Regions from separate parts of the Homo sapiens genome. Here all the other regions are linked to region 1. The links are contacts of gene promoters, found by promoter capture Hi-C in blood cells and fetal thymus (Javierre and others, 2016). All regions are on one chromosome and are shown on one strand. The core of a region is centred on a gene start or on the middle of the fragment in contact, and the rest is flanking DNA. Distances in the headings are between cores, read along the strand shown.

Evidence for each region. The method cuts DNA at HindIII sites, captures the fragments that hold promoters and counts their contacts. A CHiCAGO score of 5 or more calls a contact.
Region 2: a contact is called between a fragment that was not itself captured here and the fragment with the promoter of UBE2V2 in region 1, in 3 of 17 cell types (total CD4 T cells, naive CD4 T cells and total CD8 T cells). The highest score is 8.4, in total CD4 T cells.
Region 3: a contact is called between a fragment that was not itself captured here and the fragment with the promoter of UBE2V2 in region 1, in 1 of 17 cell types (monocytes). The highest score is 6.1, in monocytes.
Region 4: a contact is called between a fragment that was not itself captured here and the fragment with the promoter of UBE2V2 in region 1, in 3 of 17 cell types (total CD8 T cells, fetal thymus and naive CD4 T cells). The highest score is 8.4, in total CD8 T cells.
Region 5: a fragment that was not itself captured here is called in contact with the fragment with the promoter of UBE2V2 in region 1 in 1 of 17 cell types (neutrophils); the score reaches 9.4 in neutrophils.
Region 6: a contact is called between a fragment that was not itself captured here and the fragment with the promoter of UBE2V2 in region 1, in 1 of 17 cell types (neutrophils). The highest score is 6.4, in neutrophils.
Region 7: a fragment that was not itself captured here is called in contact with the fragment with the promoter of UBE2V2 in region 1 in 1 of 17 cell types (monocytes); the score reaches 5.5 in monocytes.

Annotation. Positions count from the first base shown.
Region 1 is chr8:48,007,143-48,009,751 of GRCh38, forward strand. UBE2V2 (ubiquitin conjugating enzyme E2 V2) reads left to right here and starts at 1,289. Exons shown (of 4, transcript NM_003350.3): 1 at 1,289-1,328. The coding sequence starts at 1,313. RefSeq lists silencers at 995-1,254, 1,485-1,684. The HindIII fragment of the contact is 2,629 bases long and covers 1-2,066 here.
Region 2 is chr8:48,947,612-48,950,220 of GRCh38, forward strand. No RefSeq gene overlaps it. Among named protein-coding and RNA genes, the nearest start is that of SNAI2, 27 kb to the left of the region's middle. The HindIII fragment of the contact is 763 bases long and covers 943-1,705 here.
Region 3 is chr8:47,205,022-47,207,630 of GRCh38, forward strand. No RefSeq gene overlaps it. Among named protein-coding and RNA genes, the nearest start is that of SPIDR, 55 kb to the right of the region's middle. The HindIII fragment of the contact is 1,089 bases long and covers 743-1,831 here.
Region 4 is chr8:47,266,000-47,268,608 of GRCh38, forward strand. All of the region lies in intron 1 of SPIDR (scaffold protein involved in DNA repair), which reads left to right. Among named protein-coding and RNA genes, the nearest start is that of SPIDR, 6.4 kb to the left of the region's middle. The HindIII fragment of the contact is 3,553 bases long and covers 1-2,609 here.
Region 5 is chr8:47,285,950-47,288,558 of GRCh38, forward strand. The region is part of intron 3 of SPIDR (scaffold protein involved in DNA repair); the gene reads left to right. Among named protein-coding and RNA genes, the nearest start is that of SPIDR, 26 kb to the left of the region's middle. The HindIII fragment of the contact is 8,846 bases long and covers 1-2,609 here.
Region 6 is chr8:47,311,958-47,314,566 of GRCh38, forward strand. All of the region lies in intron 5 of SPIDR (scaffold protein involved in DNA repair), which reads left to right. Among named protein-coding and RNA genes, the nearest start is that of SPIDR, 52 kb to the left of the region's middle. The HindIII fragment of the contact is 5,254 bases long and covers 1-2,609 here.
Region 7 is chr8:47,356,720-47,359,328 of GRCh38, forward strand. The region is part of intron 5 of SPIDR (scaffold protein involved in DNA repair); the gene reads left to right. LOC107986940 (a long non-coding RNA gene) reads right to left here. Exons shown (of 3, transcript XR_001745888.3): 3 at 1-1,305. Among named protein-coding and RNA genes, the nearest start is that of SPIDR, 97 kb to the left of the region's middle. The HindIII fragment of the contact is 8,146 bases long and covers 1-2,609 here.

The DNA of each region.
Region 1 (2,609 bases), core at 39-2,538:
CTCCCAAAGTGCTGGGATCCATGCCCGGCCAAAAGCATTCCCTTTGAAAGCCGGCACAAGACAAAGATGCCCTCTCTCACCACTCCTATTCAACATAGTATTGGAAGTTCTGGCCAGGGCAATCAGGCAAGAGAAAGAAATAAAGGGTATTCAATTAGGAAAAGAGGAAGTCAAATTGTCTCTGTTTGCAGATGACATGATTGTATATTTAGAAAACCCCATAGTCTCAGCCCCAAATCTTCTTAAGCTGACAAGCAACTTCAGCAAAGTCTCAGGATACAAAATCAATGTGCAAAAATCACAAGCATTCCTATACACTAATAACAGACAAACAGAGAGCCAAATCATGAGTGAACTCCCATTCACAATTGCTACAAAGAGAATAAAAATACCTAGGAATACAACCTACAAGGGATGTGAAAAATCTTTTTTTTTTTTTTTTTTCAGTTTTATGTAGAGACTAGGTATCACTATGTTGTCCAAGCTGGTCTCAAAGTCTTGGGTTCAAGCCATCCTCCTGCCTCAGCCTCCCAAAGTGTTAGGATTACAGAAGTGAGCTTCGGCGCCCAGCCTGTATTACTTTCCTTTTTCTTTCTTTCTTTTTTTTTTTTGAAATGGAGTCTCCCTCTGTTGCCCAGGCTGGAGTGCAGCGATTTCTGCTCACTGCAGCCTCACCTCTTGGGCTCACGTGACCCTCCCACCTCAGCATCCCTAGCTGTTCAAATTTATTGTCCAACTCTTTTGAATCGTTTATCAACGCAAATCTGTCAATGCCCACTTATTTTTATTTATTTTTTTGAGGCGGAGTCTCGCTCTGTTGTCCAGGCTGGAGTGCAGTGGCGCAATCGCGGCTCATTGCCCCTCCGCCTCCCCGGTTCAAACGATTCTCGTGCCTCAGCCTCCCAAATAGCTGGGATTACAGGCGCGCGCCACCACGTCCGGCTAATTTTTGTATTTTTAGTAGAGACGGGGTTTCGCCATGTTGGCCAGGCTGGTTTCGAACTCCTGACCTCGGGTGATCCGATCGCCTCGGCCTCCCAAAGTGCTGGGATTACAGACGTGAGCCACCGCGCCCGGCCCTCATGAACTTATTCTTTAGCGTTTCATTTTGAGAGCGGGATTCACAAGGGAATTGCGGAAACAGCAGCGAGGCCCCGCGACCCCTCGGCCCACGTGCGCGCTGTCCCTCGGGTCGCCCCGCGCCCGCCGGGGGCGGAGTCCGCTGTGACGCGTGCAGGGCGGCGCGCTCCCGGAAGTGACGCGCGACGGTTCGTGCGTGCGTGCGGGCGGCTGCGTCGGGCTGCAGGAGAAGATGGCGGTCTCCACAGGTCGGTTCCCGGGCCGGGCTGCGTGATTTTCCGCTCCGACCCGGCTCTGCCCCTCCGTCTGCTGCTGGCGCCCGAGCGCTGACCGTGCGGGAGAAGCCCGAGTGCGCTGTCTCGAATGCCGCGCTCTCCGCAGAGCGTAGCCTGGGACCGGGTGGGACCGGCGCCGAGGCCCCGGCGGCCGTCGGGTTGGCGGGTCGTGCTCGCGCGTCGGCCGCGCGCCGGCGGGCTGGGGGCGGGGTGGCTCCCGCGCGGGCGCCCCCGTAGGTTCCGGCGGGCGCGGGTCCGAGTTGTAGGCTGAAGGCTCTACGGGAGGGAGGCGAGGAGGCCCAAGGTGGGCGGGTGTCAACCTCCGGCACCGAAGATGGGTCAGGCCAACCGGCACCGAAGATGGGTCAGGCCAAGAGGTGTCCTGGATCAGAGTAGGGGTCCCATTCCTTTGGACTCTCCTTGACATGGGTTGGGGAGTAGAGGACGATTGCTCCTTAAAATAAGAGCGAGAGGATCTTTCTTACCTGACTGAATACGTGTGATCTTTTTATTATTTATGAGGAAAACTGCAGTGCAAACAAAATAAAAGACCAGAGCAAGATGAAAGCTAATTGAAGAACAAGTGGTTTCTTAGATAAGCTGTTCAACTCCTCTTTCCTACTGAATACAATGTTTGGTTTCCTGTGAGCACACAAGTATTAACGTTGAGGTTTTAGACATTAGACCATTTCAGAAATGTTAAAAACGTTAAGCTTTAGTTTACATTTAAAAATGTTAACCCGTGTGATCTGCCTTTTTCTTTTCTTTTCTTTTTTTTTTTTTTTTTGAGTCAGAGGCTCACCCTGTTGCCCAGTTGGAATGCAGTGGTGTGATCTCGGCTCACTGCAACCTCCACCTCCCAGGTTCAAGTGATTCTCCTGCCTCAGCCTCCCAAGTAGCTGGGATTACAGGCGCGTGCCACCAGGCCCGGCTAATTTTTGTATTTTTAGTAGAGACGGGGTTTTGTCATGTTGGCCAGACTGGTCTCGAACTCCTGACCTCAGGTGATCCGCCCACTTCGGCCTCCCAGAGTGCTGGAATTACAGGTGTGAGCCACCGCGCTCGGCCTGATCTGCCTTTTCCTAGTCTTCGTTGAAACAAGAGTATAGAGCAGTGTGATTTAATAGTTTATGCCATCATTGCATAATAAAATGAATTTTCAAATCTATATGTACTGAAATGGAAGGCTTTGAATATATGTTGTAATTGTTGCTTTAGAGTAATACCTCAGGATACATTCTGCATACATTTTAA
Region 2 (2,609 bases), core at 74-2,573, 940 kb after region 1:
TCAGAGCATATAGTTTGTATGATTTCAACCCTTTCCATTTATTAAGACTTGGTTTATGCCAGGATATGGTCTGCACTGGGGGATAGTCCATGTGTACTTAAAAAGGGTGTGTATTCTGCTGCTGTTGGATGGTATGTTCCAGAGGTGACTGTTAGTTCAGGCTGGTTGATCGTGTTCCTCTATGTCTTTATCAACTGCTATTTTTTCTTATACATGAGCCATAGTTTCCTATTTCCTTAGGCATCTTAAGATATTTTGGTAAAAACTAGATATTTTAGATAACATAAGATAACAACATTGCAATCAGATCCCCATCTCCTCCTGCCACCCTGCAGGATTTGTGTGGTTATTGCTGTTTTCCTATCATTATTTTTCTTTATTAACTTTCCTAGACTAACTCCCTGAAGTCTGTATTCCCTGTTGTGTGTTGAGCACTGAACTCTTAGTTTTTAGTTAATGATTGATCAGTGATTTCCTTAGGTGTCTCACGCCAGTAATTCTACTCTTTTCTGAGAGGCTGTATGTGTGTGCATGTGCATGTGTGCATGTGTGCATGTGCATTTGTGTGTGAGTGCATGTGTATGAGTGTGTTCACGTGCATGTGTGAGTGCATGCGTGTGTGTGTGTGCATGTGTATGCATGTGCGTGTGTGCATGTGCATGTGTACCTGTGTGTGCATGTGCAAGAGTATGTGTGTGAGTGCATGCATATGCATGTGAACATGTGTATGTGTGTGCATGTGTATGTATGTGTGCATGTGCATGTGTATGTGTATGAGTGCATGCGTGTGTGCATTGGGTCACACGTTCAATGCTGAGACAATTCCATGTTAGTTTCCACTTTTAGCTTGCACAGAGCCTCCAGGTCAGCCAGAGATAGCTGGGACCCTCCATGTTTTTCCTGCACATGCACTTGGCCTTCTAGATCTCCAGGAATATGCCAAGCTTTTCACATCCCCCTTTGGACATCTTCTCCAGATCATTCTTTTAAATTTTTGGTCAGGCTCCTGTTTGCATTAGGCAGCTGCCATGTTAAGCAATTGCCCTGGGATAGAGTTTTTCAGGAAGGGAGCTCTGAGCCAGATTGAATAATGGCAATACCTTGGAATGTGGCTTTTCCAAGGAGCTAGAAGACAGACGCGATTGCACCACTGCACTCCAGCCTGAGTGACAGCGAGACCCCGTCTCAAAAAAAAAAAAAAATGATGTTTCCCAAAATGCATTCAATGCAACTATGGAGGGAAAACAAAAATTGAAAAGAAGATAGGAAATTGAAATGGAATTATTTCAAATTCAGATGAATAATAATAACCAGGAAATAAAACATAAAGATGAAGAGGATTTTAAATAACTTTTTAGGGAAGAAAAAAAAATCTAAATTTAAATAGAATAGAAAATGGAGAGAGGAAATCCTTCTTCGTAGCTCTAAAAAATTAATTCGAGGGGTCAAACTAACTTACTTTCACCTGGCACCCTGATTTCATCTTCAATAATTTTCTGGGCGTTAATCATTCTTATTTCCCTTCATAATATAAGACTAGTGACAACTGGCCACTAAACATTTGAAATTTCAAAAGGTAAGTGTCATGAATGCAATTGTTTTGGATATCCGTGAAATCATATATCTGAAAATATTCTAGCATATATCCTCTATCACCAGACGTCCTTGAAAACATGGAGAGAAGTCACTGTGGGGTGGCAGAATAAGCTTCATGAGTGATAAGGTGTCTTTCACCTCCAGGGGCTGGAGTTCAAGGCTTGCTGTGGTTGCACACATTTGGCCTTCTCTCTACGACCTCACTTTGTCCTCAGTGGATATCTGGCTTGGGCCTCCAGTCTGTCATGTGATGGCTGTAGTGTAGAACAGCAGGCCTGCTCCCTTGTTACAGGGTCTCTGTTCAGCATTGACAAGCATTTGACAAGGAAGGACTGAAATATTTTGGGAACCTGAGTAAGTTAGAGTTTACAAAAGGCCTTTGTGCTTTGCCAAGCTGAAATGTTATTTCTGATGGACTAAATGCCAGCTCTACCTGAACCTAGGGAAGTGAGAAAAATGAAGTTTCCGCAGTAACCACAACACAGCCACTCCCAGCAGCAGGAGGGACCTTTAGTGCATGTGCAGCTGGGGCCACGGCCTGTCACACACAGGAAGCGGTCACAGAAAAGCTCAGTATTGTGGTTGAGGTGTGTGCTCTTCATACCTCATCAGCACAGCAGGAAAGAGCCCCTAGGATGGATGTTCCCCCTCCTCATTTGAGAAAGGAAATAACGTGATGTTCATGACTATGCAACTTCTGTAGGAACATGGCATGGTGTTAAATTCCAAATACTGCTTCTTCTGGTGATTAATATATTACATATTTGCATGGGAGCAGTTTACAAATAAAAATGATGTTTTATTGTTAGTCTGAAAGCTAGAAGAAGGAGGTAATATTTTTAATAACTGTGGCACTTCAGTTCTGATTATTTTGTGGGGGTCACTTGTTTCCATTAGTGCCAGTGACAATACATTTTGATACTCTGATTCCTGGTAGGTCATTTTCACATATAGTCAAAAATTTCAGTATAAAGACTTAAAGGACCACGGTAGCTATTAAGATGGTGATTCTT
Region 3 (2,609 bases), core at 37-2,536, 800 kb before region 1:
AAAGCTGAACCGGCTCAGGAGGTGGTACTATGGAACCATCTGAAAGACACGCTGGGTCAGGAATGTTGAGCTCGCCTCTATTTTCACCACAGAAAACAGGAGTCATGTGTGCACAGCCTCCTAAATGGGCCAATGGTCCTCAATCTTGCATGTCTCAAGATAATCTGTGGAGCTTCATAAATGTATAGCTCCTTGGGTGAAAATTCTGATTCAGGAGGTCAGGTGAGGTATAGATTTCCATAGTACAGAAAATAAAAGTTCCTCGGATGGTTCTGATGTTGAGCCAAGATGTATAAATCACTAAAATAAGCCATTGGAAAACATGATTGATTGTAAGGATATGGGTATGGATAAGGATTTAGGAGATGCCCTGAGGTCCTCTCTCTTCCAGAACCTTATTCTTTTCTTCATAGGCATGTGCCATGCTTGGTAATTTCACATTAACTTGTTTTGTGTCTGTCTCCCTCACTAGAATGTCAGCTTCTTAAGGGCAGGCACTGTGGCTGCTGTATTCACACCAATACTCCCGGTACCAGTATCTGGGAAGGCCTAGTGCTCAATAAATATTCACTGAATGAATGACAAGGAGCTGACTTTATGTACTTTTCATTGTCTTATATTTCAGATAGTGACTATATTTTTTTTTCTGTAAAAAATACAAGCATCCAAGTATGGTGGGAAAATCTACAAACACTATCACACACACAGAGACAAGAGCACACATACAGCAGTGACTGATGAAAGCTTAGGTGAGCTCTTAGTTCTCAAGGCTGTAGACTGAGGGAAGGGAGAGGAAGCAGGTTGGGGGCGTGTGTGTGCAACCCTTTTCCTCACTGAGTTGCAGGTAGGGGCATTGTGAGGCCAGCACCTCCAGCCTGGAACACTGATCCAGGACCCCCTAGTGTCTGGGGCTTGAGGCCCCACCCTGTCTTCTCAGGACTCTAAGCACATCTATTTCCAGGTATTTTCAGCTGCCACAGCCAGGAGGAACAGAATTGTTCCCCTCCCTTTCTGAGGCTCACTTTTAAAGCACTGGACTTGTGGAATCCAAGGCTCTCCCTGAAACACCAGTTCTGAGTGGATTTAAGAGGGTGGGGAGGGGAAGGGATCCTCCCCAACTAAATTTCACAGCTGCCCTCCTCATGCAATACAGGCCACGGCCTGCAGATGGGCAACAGTGATGGAGAGAAGCAGGAGTAGTACAGAATGAATTTGTGAAGACATGCACACACATGCACACACACACACATTTGCACATGCATGCACATGCACACATACCCCACTGCAAGAGAAAGGAATGTGACCCGTGGGCTGGTCTCTGGGCTGGGAGGCCCTGAGGCTGAGCCTATGGGAATCAGTCAGGAGGTTCTGCTGTTGCTCAGGCTTCTGCCTAGAAGCACCTTCTGCAAGATTGATGCTCCCCAGAGACTGGGGAAGAATCAGTAACTACCTCCTCCCCTGGCTGCCTGAGAACACCCAGGGCTTGTTATAGAATCTAACTGGGGTCCACTCACCCAGCGCAGTAAAACCAGATATCTAAACTGAGGGTTTTGCAGTGAATAGAAAGGAAGGCATTTATTGCAGGGCACCAAGCAAGGAGAATCTGGCGGGCTCCTGCTTAAAATCTGAACTCCCCGGTGGCTTGCAGATAAGGGTTTTTAAAACTAGTAGTACATTTCAGGAAAGCAGAAGCTACAGGCAAAATCACAAATCAATACACAGAAGTTACATGTTGTTTTTGGCCCCAAAGGGTGGGATATCTTGAAGCAGGGGCTTACAGGTCATAGGTAGATTCAAAGATCTTCTGATTTGCAGTTGACTAAAATAGAGAAGCTTTGTTTAAACATTTGGGGTCAGTAGAAGAATGTTAACTGGTTATGAGGAATGACTTTCTCTAAACCCCTTGGGAAGAAACTTAGAACCAAAAATCGTTTAAAGTTTAGTCTTCACTTCCCCTTTATCTGGGGGAATATGTCAGTGGATCCTTTCTGTGGGGTCCTCAGTGGGGATCCAAGCCTCTGAAAGACAACTCAGGGACATAAGCTAAGAGATTATCATTGGTTTCTGTAGGGAAAGCTAATATCTCTGGGACTCTAACCTCTTTAGCTATTGTTTTAGCCTACTGTTGTCTTCTTAACAAGTCACTTATTTACTTGTTGGGGATTGCGAAGTGCCTGGAATTGCCCTCAGAGGAACTCAGGATTTTCCTTTATTTCTGTGCTTGGGGTCTGCAGGCCCCTTAAAAAGGGGGTTCTTGCTTTCTCTCACATCCCTTACCCCAGGTTAACATAGTCAAGAATCTGAGAAAAAGGCAATGAAAATAAAACCTCTGTGTGTCTCACTTGGGAAGAATCAACTGTGCAGCTCCAGAAGTCACAGCTGCTCTCAGGTGAGCCTCCTTCCTAAGCTCTCTCCCAGGGCTGCTCCAGGGCAGCTGTCCCCATCCAGATGACTAGAATCCCACCCCATGAGACACACCAAGCCACTTGCTAATTCCTTGGGAGGTCTTGCATTTCCCCCGCAGGCCTCATCTCTGGAAACTCTCCCCTTATCCCACCCTCTCTCAAAGTGCCCTCTGCCCCAACCACGTGGCCAGTTGCTCTTCCTCT
Region 4 (2,609 bases), core at 76-2,575, 740 kb before region 1:
TCGACATCCCAAAGTGCTGGGATGACAGGCGTGAGCCACCATGCCCGGTCTGAAGTTTTTTTTTTTTTAATACAACATAAAACTCTCATGATTTATCGAAGTTGTTGTGCATATCAGTAGTTTCTTTGTCTTTTTTTTTTTTTTTTTTGAGTTGGAGTCTCACTCTCTTGCCCAGGCTGGAGTGCAATAGCGCGATCTCGGCTCACTGCAACTTTCCGCCTCCCCAGTTCAAACAATTCTCCTGCGTCAGCCTCCCAAGTAGCTGGTACTACAGGCACCTGCTGCCATGCCTGGCTAATCTTTTGTATTTTAGTAGAGACAGGGTTTCACCGTGTTGCCCAGGCTGGTCTTGAACTCCTGAGCTCAGGCAATGCAATCCACCCACCTCGGCCTCTCAAAGTGTTAGGATTACAGGCATGAGCCACTGTGCCTGGCCAATAGTTTCTTTGTTTTAATTGCTGAGTAGTGTTCCATATAATGGATATACCAGAGTTTGGATTAACATTTATTATTGAAGGACCTCTAGGCTGTTTTCAGGTTTTGGTTATTGCAAATAAAACTGCTATAAACATTTGTGTACAGGTTTTTGTGTGAACATAAGTTTTCATTTCTCTGAGATAAATGCCTAAGTATGTAATTGCCAGAACCTATGGTAATTTGATGTTTAACTCTATAAGAAACTGACAAACTTTTCCAAAGTGGTTATATCTGTATAATTTTGCAGTCCCATTGGCAATGTTGTTATTCAGTTTTATAGATAATAAAATCTACCCTTTTAAAGTGGAAAATCCAGTGGTTTCTAGTATATTTACAGAGTTGTACAAATGTTCCTAATTGTAGAATATTTTCATGACCCCAAAAAGAAACCCCATAGCTATTACTAGTCAGTCACTCCCCATTCTCTCTTCCCTCATCCATTGGCAACCACTAAGCTACTTTCGGTGTGTATGGATTTGCCTATTCTGGACATTTCATATAAAGTGTGGTCATTTTGTGACTGGCTTCTTTCATTAAAAATAATGTTTTCCAGGTTTATACATGTTGTTGCATGTATCAGTACTTCATTCCTATTTATTTTGAATAAATTTTTTATTGCATGGACATACTGCATTTGAAAAATCCATTTATTAGTTGATAGACATTTGGATTATTTCCACCTTTGGGCTGTTAAGAATAATGTTGCTTTGAACTTTTTTTTTTAATTGAGATCCGGTCTCATTATATTGCCCAGGCTGGTCTCAAACTCCTGGCTGGGCTCAAGAGATCCTCCCATCTCAGCTTCTCAAGGTGTTGGGATTACATCCGTGAGCCATCGCACCTGGCCTGCGTTGAACATTTGTATATGCATTTTTATGTAGACCTAAGTTTTTCTTTCTCTAGCAGTGGAATTTTTGGGTCACATAATAACTGTATGTTTACATTTTGGATAACTGTTAGAATTTTCCAAAGTGGTTGCACCTTTTACAGTCTCACCAGCAAGGAATGAACATTCTAATTTTGCCACATTCTTGCTAACACTTGCCATTGCCTGTCTTTTACTTTTAGTCATCCTAATGGTTATGAAGTGTTACCTCACTGTGATTTGGTTTGCAGTTCCCTAATGAGATTGAGCATCTTTTCATGTACTTATTGGGCATTTCTGTATCTTCTTGAAGAAATGTTTATTCAGCTTATTTGGCTGCGTTTTCATTGGGTTATTTGCTGTTTTATTGTGGAATCACGAGTTCTTTAAAATTCTGTATACTGTTCCCCTATAAGATGTATGATTGCAGATATTTTCTCTCATTCTTTGGGTTTTCTTTTCATTTTCTTATTGAAGTACAAATGTTTTTAATAATTTTGATGAGGTCCAATTTGTTTTTTCTTTTGTTTCTTGTGCTTTTCGGTGTCATGTCTAATAAATCATTGCCTAAACCAAGGTCACAAAGATTTATTCCTATGTTTTCTTCCAAGAGTTACAGTTTTAGCTCTTACATTTAGGTCTGTGATTCATTTGGAGTTAATTTTTCTACACACTGTGAGGTAGGGGTACAACTTCATTCTTTTCGATGTGGATACCCAGTTGTTTCAACACTGTTTGTTGAAAAAATTGTTCTTTCTCCTTGAATTGTCTTGGCACTTTTTTGTTTTAATTGAAAATCAGTTGACCATAAAAGTAAAGGTTTGTTTCTGGTCTATGAATTCTATTCCACTGATCTCCATGTCTGCCTTTATTCTAGTACCATACTGTTTTAATTACTGTAACTTGGCAGTGTTGAAATTAGAAGTGTGAGTTTCTGACTTGTTTTCTGTTTTGAGATTTTTTTAACTGTTTTGGGTTCATTACATTTCCATATGAATAATAGCAGCTTGTCAATTTCTGCAGAAAGCCATCTGGGATTTTGATTTTGTTGAATATATAGACAAATTGGAGAGTATTATCATCTTAACAATATTATTTCCCATGAGCATGGGTTGTCTTTTCATTTATTTAGATCTTCTTTAATTTCTATCTATGTTTTACAGTTTTCAGTGAAAAAGTCCTGCACTTCTTTGGTTAAATTTATTCCTAAGAGTTTTATTCTTTTTGATGCTATTTTGAATGCAGTTCTACTGGCACATGCTGCTGC
Region 5 (2,609 bases), core at 53-2,552, 720 kb before region 1:
GATATCAAGGACACCCTCTTTACAGCAAGTGAAATGAGTTACTAATCAATTCCTGGTAGTGATTTTAACTACCTAGTTGTGCAGTCAGGTGCCTATAATTCATGGGTTTATAAATCTAGAGTCCTGGTCTCTGAGGTTTTGAATGACATAACTAATGATTATCCTGTCTTTTAAATTAGATGGTACAGAAGCACCAGACAGTTACATATTTTCTTAGATACTCACACTAAACTAATGGTGAAAGCAACTGCAGGTCTCTCTGACTTGAGAGCTACGCATAATGGTTAAGAACATGGACTCAGAAGCTCACCTGCCTGGGTGTGCGTCTCAGGCACCACAGCTGCTGGCTGAAAAAAGGCATTACATTTGGGAAGTCCTTTCCAATGAATGACTCATAACATAGAAACTGTATGAATAAAGCTGGTAAATTCACCTAAACATAAAGGGAAAAACAGCATGGCCAAAATTACATATATAAGTCTGATAGGGTGGCATACGTCTGTAGTCCCAGTTACTTGGGAGGCTGTGGCAGGAAGATCACTTGAGCCCAGGAGTTTGGGGCTGCAGTGTGCTGTGATCATGCCTGTGTACAGCTGCTGCAGTCCATCCTGGGTGACATAGCAAGACCACATCGCTTACAAAAAATTACATGTACATACACAAAATTTAAAATTCAGAAAAACCAGGGAAAATACTGTGGCTCATGTCACAGACCAAGGCTGATCTTTCTAATAAAGAACCATCAGAACTTAATCTAGGGGGAAAAAGATAACTATTGCAAAAATAACGATTATGGAGGAACTGCTTTCAAAAAAGGAAATATAAATGATTTTCAAACCTATGAAAAGATGCTCAGCCTCAAGGCAGTGAGAGGTCATTTTTTTCTGATCAGATCATCCAGAATCTTAGTATATATCTTTCTGTTTGTTCTTTCATGTTCTTTTGAAGTCTTCTAAAAACATGTACTTTGGTTTTACATGTCTCTTAAGTATTGGGGGAACCCGCCCCCAATATTTCAACGTAGGTTCTTTGTATTTTCCCTAAGTGTCGGCCAGCTGAGAAATAAAGAGAAAGAGTACAAGGAGAGGAATTTTACAGCTGGGCCTCCAGGGGTGACATCACATAACAGTAGGACCGTGATGCCCACCTGAGCCACAAAACCAGCAGGTTTTTATTAAGGACTTCAAAAGGGGAGGGGGTGTACGAACAGGGAGTAGGTCACAAAGATCACATGCTTCAAAGGGCAAAAAGGAGAACAAAGATCACATGCTTCTGAGGCCAATAAAGATCACAAGGCAAAGGGCAAAGCAAAGATCACAAGGCAAAGGGCAAAGCAAAGATCACAAGGCAAAGGGCGAAATCAAAAACTCCTGATAAGGGTCTATGTTCAGCTGTGCACATATTGTCTTGATAAACATCTTAAACAACAGAAAACAGGGTTGGAGAGCAGAGAACTGGTCTGACCTCAAATTCACCAGGGTGGATTTTTTTTCCCCACCCTAATAAACCTGAGGGTACTGCAGGAGACCAGGGTGTATTTCAGTTCTTATCCCAACCGCATAAGACAGACACTCCCAGAGTGGCCGTTTATAGACCTCCCCCCAGGAATGCATTCCTTCCCCAGGGTATTAATTATTAATATTCCTTGCTGGGAAAAGAATTTAGCAATATCTTCCCTACTTGCATGTCCGTTTATAGGCTCTCTGCAAGAAGAAAAATATGGCTGTATTCTGCCTGACCCCAAAGGCCATCAGACCTTATGGTTGTTTTCCCTTGTTCCCTGAAAATCGCTGTTATTCTGTTCTTTTTCAAGGTGCACTGATTTCATATTGTTCAAACACACATTTTACAATCAATTTGTACAGTTTAACACGATAGTGGTCCTGAGGTGATGTACATTCTCAGTTTATGAAGATAACAGGATTAAGAGAGTAAAGACAGGCATAAGAAATTATAAAAGTATTATTTGGGGAATGATAAAGGTCCATATTAAAATGAAATCTTCACAATTTATGTTCAGAGATTGAAGTAAAGAACTTGTAAAAGTATTAATTTTGGGAACTGATATATGTCCATATTAAAATGAAATCTACATAATTTATGTTCCTCTGCGGTGGCTCCAGCTCGTCCCTCTGTTCGGGGTCCCTGACTTCCTGCAACACTTAAGTTTCTTGTAGGTATTTTATTGGTTTTTGCTACTGCTTTAAATTTGATTTCTGTATTGTAGTTTGTACCTTGCCACCTTTATTGGACTTCCTTATTAACGGTAGTAATTTTTCAGTTGGTTTCTTGACTTTTCCATGAATTCATTTCATAATTTGCAAATAGTGATAACTTCCTTCTTTTTTTTTTTTGAGATAATGTCTCACTCTGTCACCCAGGCTAGAGTACAGTGGTGTGATCTCTGCTCACTGCAACCTCTGCCTCCTGGGTTCAAGCAATTCTCTGCCTCAGTCTCCCGAGTAGCTGGGATTACAGGTGCCCACAACCATGCCTGGCTAATTTTTTGTATTTTTAGTAGAGATGGGGTTTCACCATCTTGGCCAGGCTGGTCTTGAACTTCTGACCTCGTGATCCACCCACCTCGGCCTCCCGAAGTCTAGGATTAC
Region 6 (2,609 bases), core at 71-2,570, 700 kb before region 1:
GAACATGCGGTGTTTGGTTTTTTGTCCTTGCGATAGTTTGCTGAGAATGATGGTTTCCAGTTTGATCCATGTCCCTACAAAGGACATGAACTCTTCATTTTTTATGGCTGCATAGTATTCCATGGTGGATATGTGCCACATTTTCTTAATCCAGTCTATCATTGTTGGACATTTGGGTTGGTTCCAAGTCTTTGCTATTGTGAATAGTGCCGCAGTAAACATAGGTGTGCGTGTGTCTTTATAGCAGCATGATTTATAGTCCTTTGGGTATATACCCAGTAATGGGATGGCTGGGTCAAATGGTATTTCTAGTTCTAGATCCCTGAGGAATCGCCACACTGACTTCCACAATGGTTGAACTAGTTTACACTCCCACCAACAGTGTAAAAGTGTTCCTGTTTCTCCACATCCTCTCCAGCACCTGTTGTTTCCTGACTTTTTAATGATCACCATTCTAACTGGTGTGAGATGGTATCTCATTATGGTTTTGATTTGCATTTCTCTGATGGCCAGTGATGGTGAGCATTTTTTCATGTGTTTTTTGGCTGCATAAATGTCTTCTTTTGAGAAGTGTCTGTTCATATCCTTCACCCACTTTTTGATGGGGTTGTTTGTTTTTTTCTTGTAAATTTGTTTGAGTTCATTGTAGATTCTGGATATTAGCCCTTTGTCAGATGAGGTAGGTTGCGAAAATTTTCTCCCATTTTGTAGGTTGCCTGTTCACTCTGATGGTAGTTTCTTGTGCTGTGCAGAAGCTCTTTAGTTTAATTAGATCCCATTTGTCAATTTTGGCTTTTGTTGCCATTGCTTTTGGTGTTGTAGACATGAAGTCCTTCCCCATGCCTATGTCCTGAATGGTATTGCCTAGGTTTTCTTCTAGGGTTTTTATGGTTTTAGGTCTAACATTTAAGTCTTTAATCCATCTTGAATTAATTTGTGTATAAGGTGTAAGGAAGGGATCCAGTTTCAGCTTTCTACATATGGCTAGCCAGTTTTCCCAGCACCATTTATTAAATAGGGAATCCTTTCCCGAAAACTGGCACAAGACAGGGATGCCCTCTCTCACCACTCCTATTCAACATAGTGTTGGAAGTTCTGGCCAGGGCAGTCAGGCAGGAGAAGGAAATAAAGGGTATTCAATTAGGAAAAGAGGAAGTCAAATTGTCTCTGTTTGCAGATGACATGATTGCATATCTAGAAAACACCATCATCTCAGCCCAAAATCTCCTTAAGCTGATAAGCAACTTCAGCAAAGTCTCAGGATACAAAATCAATTTGCAAAAATCACAAGCATTCTTCTAGACCAATAACAGACAAACAGAGAGCCAAATCATGAGTGAACTCCCATTCACAATTGCTTCAAAGAGAATAAAATACCTAGGAATCCAAACTTACAAGGGACGTGAAGGACCTCTTCAAGGAGAACTACAAACCACTGCTCAATGAAATAAAAGAGGATACAAACAAATGGAAGAACATTCCGTGCTCATGGGTAGAAAGAATCAATGTCGTGAAAATGGCCATACTGCCCAAGGTAATTTATAGATTCAATGCCATCCCCATCAAGCTACCAATGACTCTCTTCACAGAATTGGAAAAAACTACTTTAAAGTTCATATGGAACCAAAAAAGAGCCCGCATTGCCGAGTCAATCCTAAGCCAAAAGAACAAAGCCGGAGGCATCACGCTACCTGACTTCAAACTATACTACAAGGCTACAGTAACCAAAACTGCATGGTACTGGTACCAAAACAGAGATATAGATCAGTGGAACAGAACAGAGCCCTCAGAAATAATGCCACATATCTACAACCATCTGATCTTTGACAGACCTGACTTCTTATCAGAAATAATGCAGGCCAGCAGGCTATAAACACCTTTAAAGTACTGGGAAAATAAAAATCAACTCAGAATTCTGTAGCCAAATAAGAAAACATACTTTCTAGCTAAGAAAATCTTTATACTACAAGAAATGTTTAAGGAGATACTTCAAGCTGAAGGAAAGTGTTACCAGCTGAAACTCAGAACTTCAGGAATGAAGAGCACTGCAATTGGTAAAAATGTAAGTCTTCCCCACTCCATTAAGAAATATACAGTTGTGACTGTTTAAAGCAGAAATTATAATGTTACAATATGGCATTTATATATGACTGCTGTGTATAAAGGATGAGTCTAGGTTGATGGAGCTGTGTGCTTACTGTGGTCTTTATTTTATGAAGGGGTAGAATTAGCTTTAAGTACACTGCAAAGTTAAAGATATACATTATAATTCCTAGAACAAACACTGGAAAAGAAAAAAATGCAAAGAGGTGATAACTAAAAAACAAGAGAAGTCAAAATGGAATTCTGAAATGTATTTAGAGAAAATGAAAAAAGGTATAAAGGAAGGAACAGCAGAATATAAAACAAATGAGATGTGTGTCAGTCTGTTCTCATACTGCTAATAAAGACATACTCGAAACTGGGTAATTTATGAAGGAAAGAGGTTTAATTGACCCAGTTCAGCATGGCTGGGGAGGCCTCAGGAAACTTACAATCATGGAGGAAGGGGAAGCAAACATGTCCTTCACAGGGTGGCAGCAAGGAACAGAATGAGAGCAAAGTTGGGG
Region 7 (2,609 bases), core at 32-2,531, 650 kb before region 1:
GCAGTGGGTGGTAGCAGGGGATAGGGGGTGGTTTGCATCTGTTACCTAAAGTAAGACCAGTATGAACATAAAGTCCTAGAAAAATTTGGATACTGAACTTTGGTTTTTAAAATGCGTACAGTAAATGAAGCTGCTGTTCTGTGAGCACCTACCTACCATGTGGGGTGCTGCAGAATCTATTTTACACATATTTTCTCACTCAGTTTCCTCAATGACCCTGTTGAAATGGGGTTTATTTTGCATATGGGGTAACTTGGCTGTGTCTCAAATAAATTAAAAAGTTGCCTAGCATTACTTGCCAGGAAGGGGCAGAATGAGAACAACCAAGGGAATCTTAGAATTAGATCATAAGAGAAGAATCCCATTGTGTTCTACTAGTCAGTTTAAGTTGAGTGCTTGTGTAACATATTTTCTTAAATAGGTAGGAAATTAGGGGAAAGAGTGTGAATTTATTGGCTAGGCTTATAAGAGAACAGATAAGATTTCTATGCTAGCCTGCTTCTTGTTCATCTTTTACTAAGAGTCTGGCATCCAAATTTCTGGACCTTGGCACACTTTGGTATTTGGTATGAAGAAAGGAAAATCATTCCACCTGGTTCCCATGTCCCGACACCCACGCCATAACTACCTGTCAGAACTCGCTCTGCTTATCTGTCCTGCGTGGGAGATGGCAGCACTCTGCCCTGCTCAGTGTATGTCTCGTGGTTACTTGAGACATCCACCAGGCTTAGCTCTAGGATATCTGCCCGAAGAAAAGATGGAGTGGAGGGGCTTAGATGGCCAAGAGAAGAAATTCGCTCAAATCAAACTTCTTTATTTATCTTATTTTTCGTCCATCGTTTTACTCTGGTTATGGGTTACATTCTTTCTGTGGTATGATGGAGCAAGGTAGCATTTATTTTCCTCACCATATAATTTTTGGTTCTTTTGTTTCAATTGAATTGAACTTCTAAGAAGGCAAGCACAATGAGCATAGTACTCATTTCCATAAATATGTGCTTTTGTTTTGTTTTTCACTTTTAAGAAAGAAATTTGAAGTGTGGAAGTTGGAGTTCTGAAAAAAAATTAGGGAAGGAAATGGAGAGGATATAAGGAGAAAGGAAAGGAGATCTCATACATGTTAATCGTCTAGTGTTTAAGGCCACATGAAGGTCAGTAAATGATACTGGAGAGCATTAAATAAGAAGTACTCACCTGTGATTTCAGCAGGCTTGCATGTAGTCACGAATATATGTGTGGTTTACATTCACTCTGGCAGTCTTTCCTCTCCAACCTGGTGAGAATTAGCATCCTTGTTTTCCAGACCTGTTAACCAGTAAATGACTGTTCGGCAGACTATTTTATTTTTTATTTTTGTTTGCATATTCATTTGTTTTAGGTCTCGCTCTGTTGCCCACAGTGGAGTGCAGTGGCTGTTCACAGGTGTGATCATGGCTCACTGCAGCCTTGAACTCCTCCTGGGCTCAAGGAATCCTCTAGCCTCAGCCTCCTGATTAGCTGGGACTACAGACATGGCACACCACCGTAGCTAATTTTTATAAAAAGTTTTATAGAGATAGAGTTTCACTATGTTGCCCCAGCTGGTCTCAAACTCCTGGGCACAAGTGATTCTACCGCCTCAGCCTCCTGAGTTGCTAGGATCACAGATGTGAGCCTCCTTGCCTGGTCATTTATTTTTTTTAATTTTTAAAGAAATAAATATTGAGAGATTATCTTATTTTTTTCTCAAATACCTTATGTTAGAAATGATAAATTTACAATGTATACTCACTTCTGAGTTTGGCCTGTTTTCCTGAGGTGTCAGAAGACAGGATCTAACACTAGATTTTAAGATTAAGGTTTGAGGCTAAGATCTCTCTACAGCTTTCCCACAACAATCTTGTGAAGAAGAAATGATGAACTCAAGCCATGTCATTTCTCCCTGTTGCTATTTCTAAACATGGCATGGCATTGGCTTGGATTGTCTCATTAAAATTTGTTTTGCAGTTCAATTGCATTATCTGATCCCTATATTACTTCAGTAGCAGAATTTTAAACATTTTATGTCCATTTTCTGCTTTTATGGGCTTTAGTCCTGCCCATTGGTATTTACATTTAGGAAGTTAGGACGTAGGATACATATATACAGACATACTCCTCCCACCCATTGCAGCACAAATAAATCTCAATTGATTTTTCTCTCTATTAATAAAATAACCTGTGATCACATAAATTTCTGGTAGTCTCTAGGTGGAGGCAATTGGAGTTAACATTTTTGTACAGTTTGTTTTCATGTTAAGACACTAACTCTAGCATGACTAGGATTTCAGAGACATCTGTTTATAGGATTGAGCACAGAGATCTGATTCCCTCCCACCAGTTAAAAAAATTGTTAAAAAAAAAAGTTTTTTTTTACGGGCGCCTGTAGTCCCAGCTACTCGGGAGGCTGAGGCAGGAGAATGGCGTGAACCCGGGAAGCGGAGCTTGCAGTGAGCCGAGATTGCGCCACTGCAGTCCGCAGTCCGGCCTGGGCGACAGAGCGAGACTCCGTCTCAAAAAAAAAAAAAAAAGTTTTTTTTTAACAAATTTTGTATAGTGTTGTTTTATAATATCCACCTTGGCACATTCGA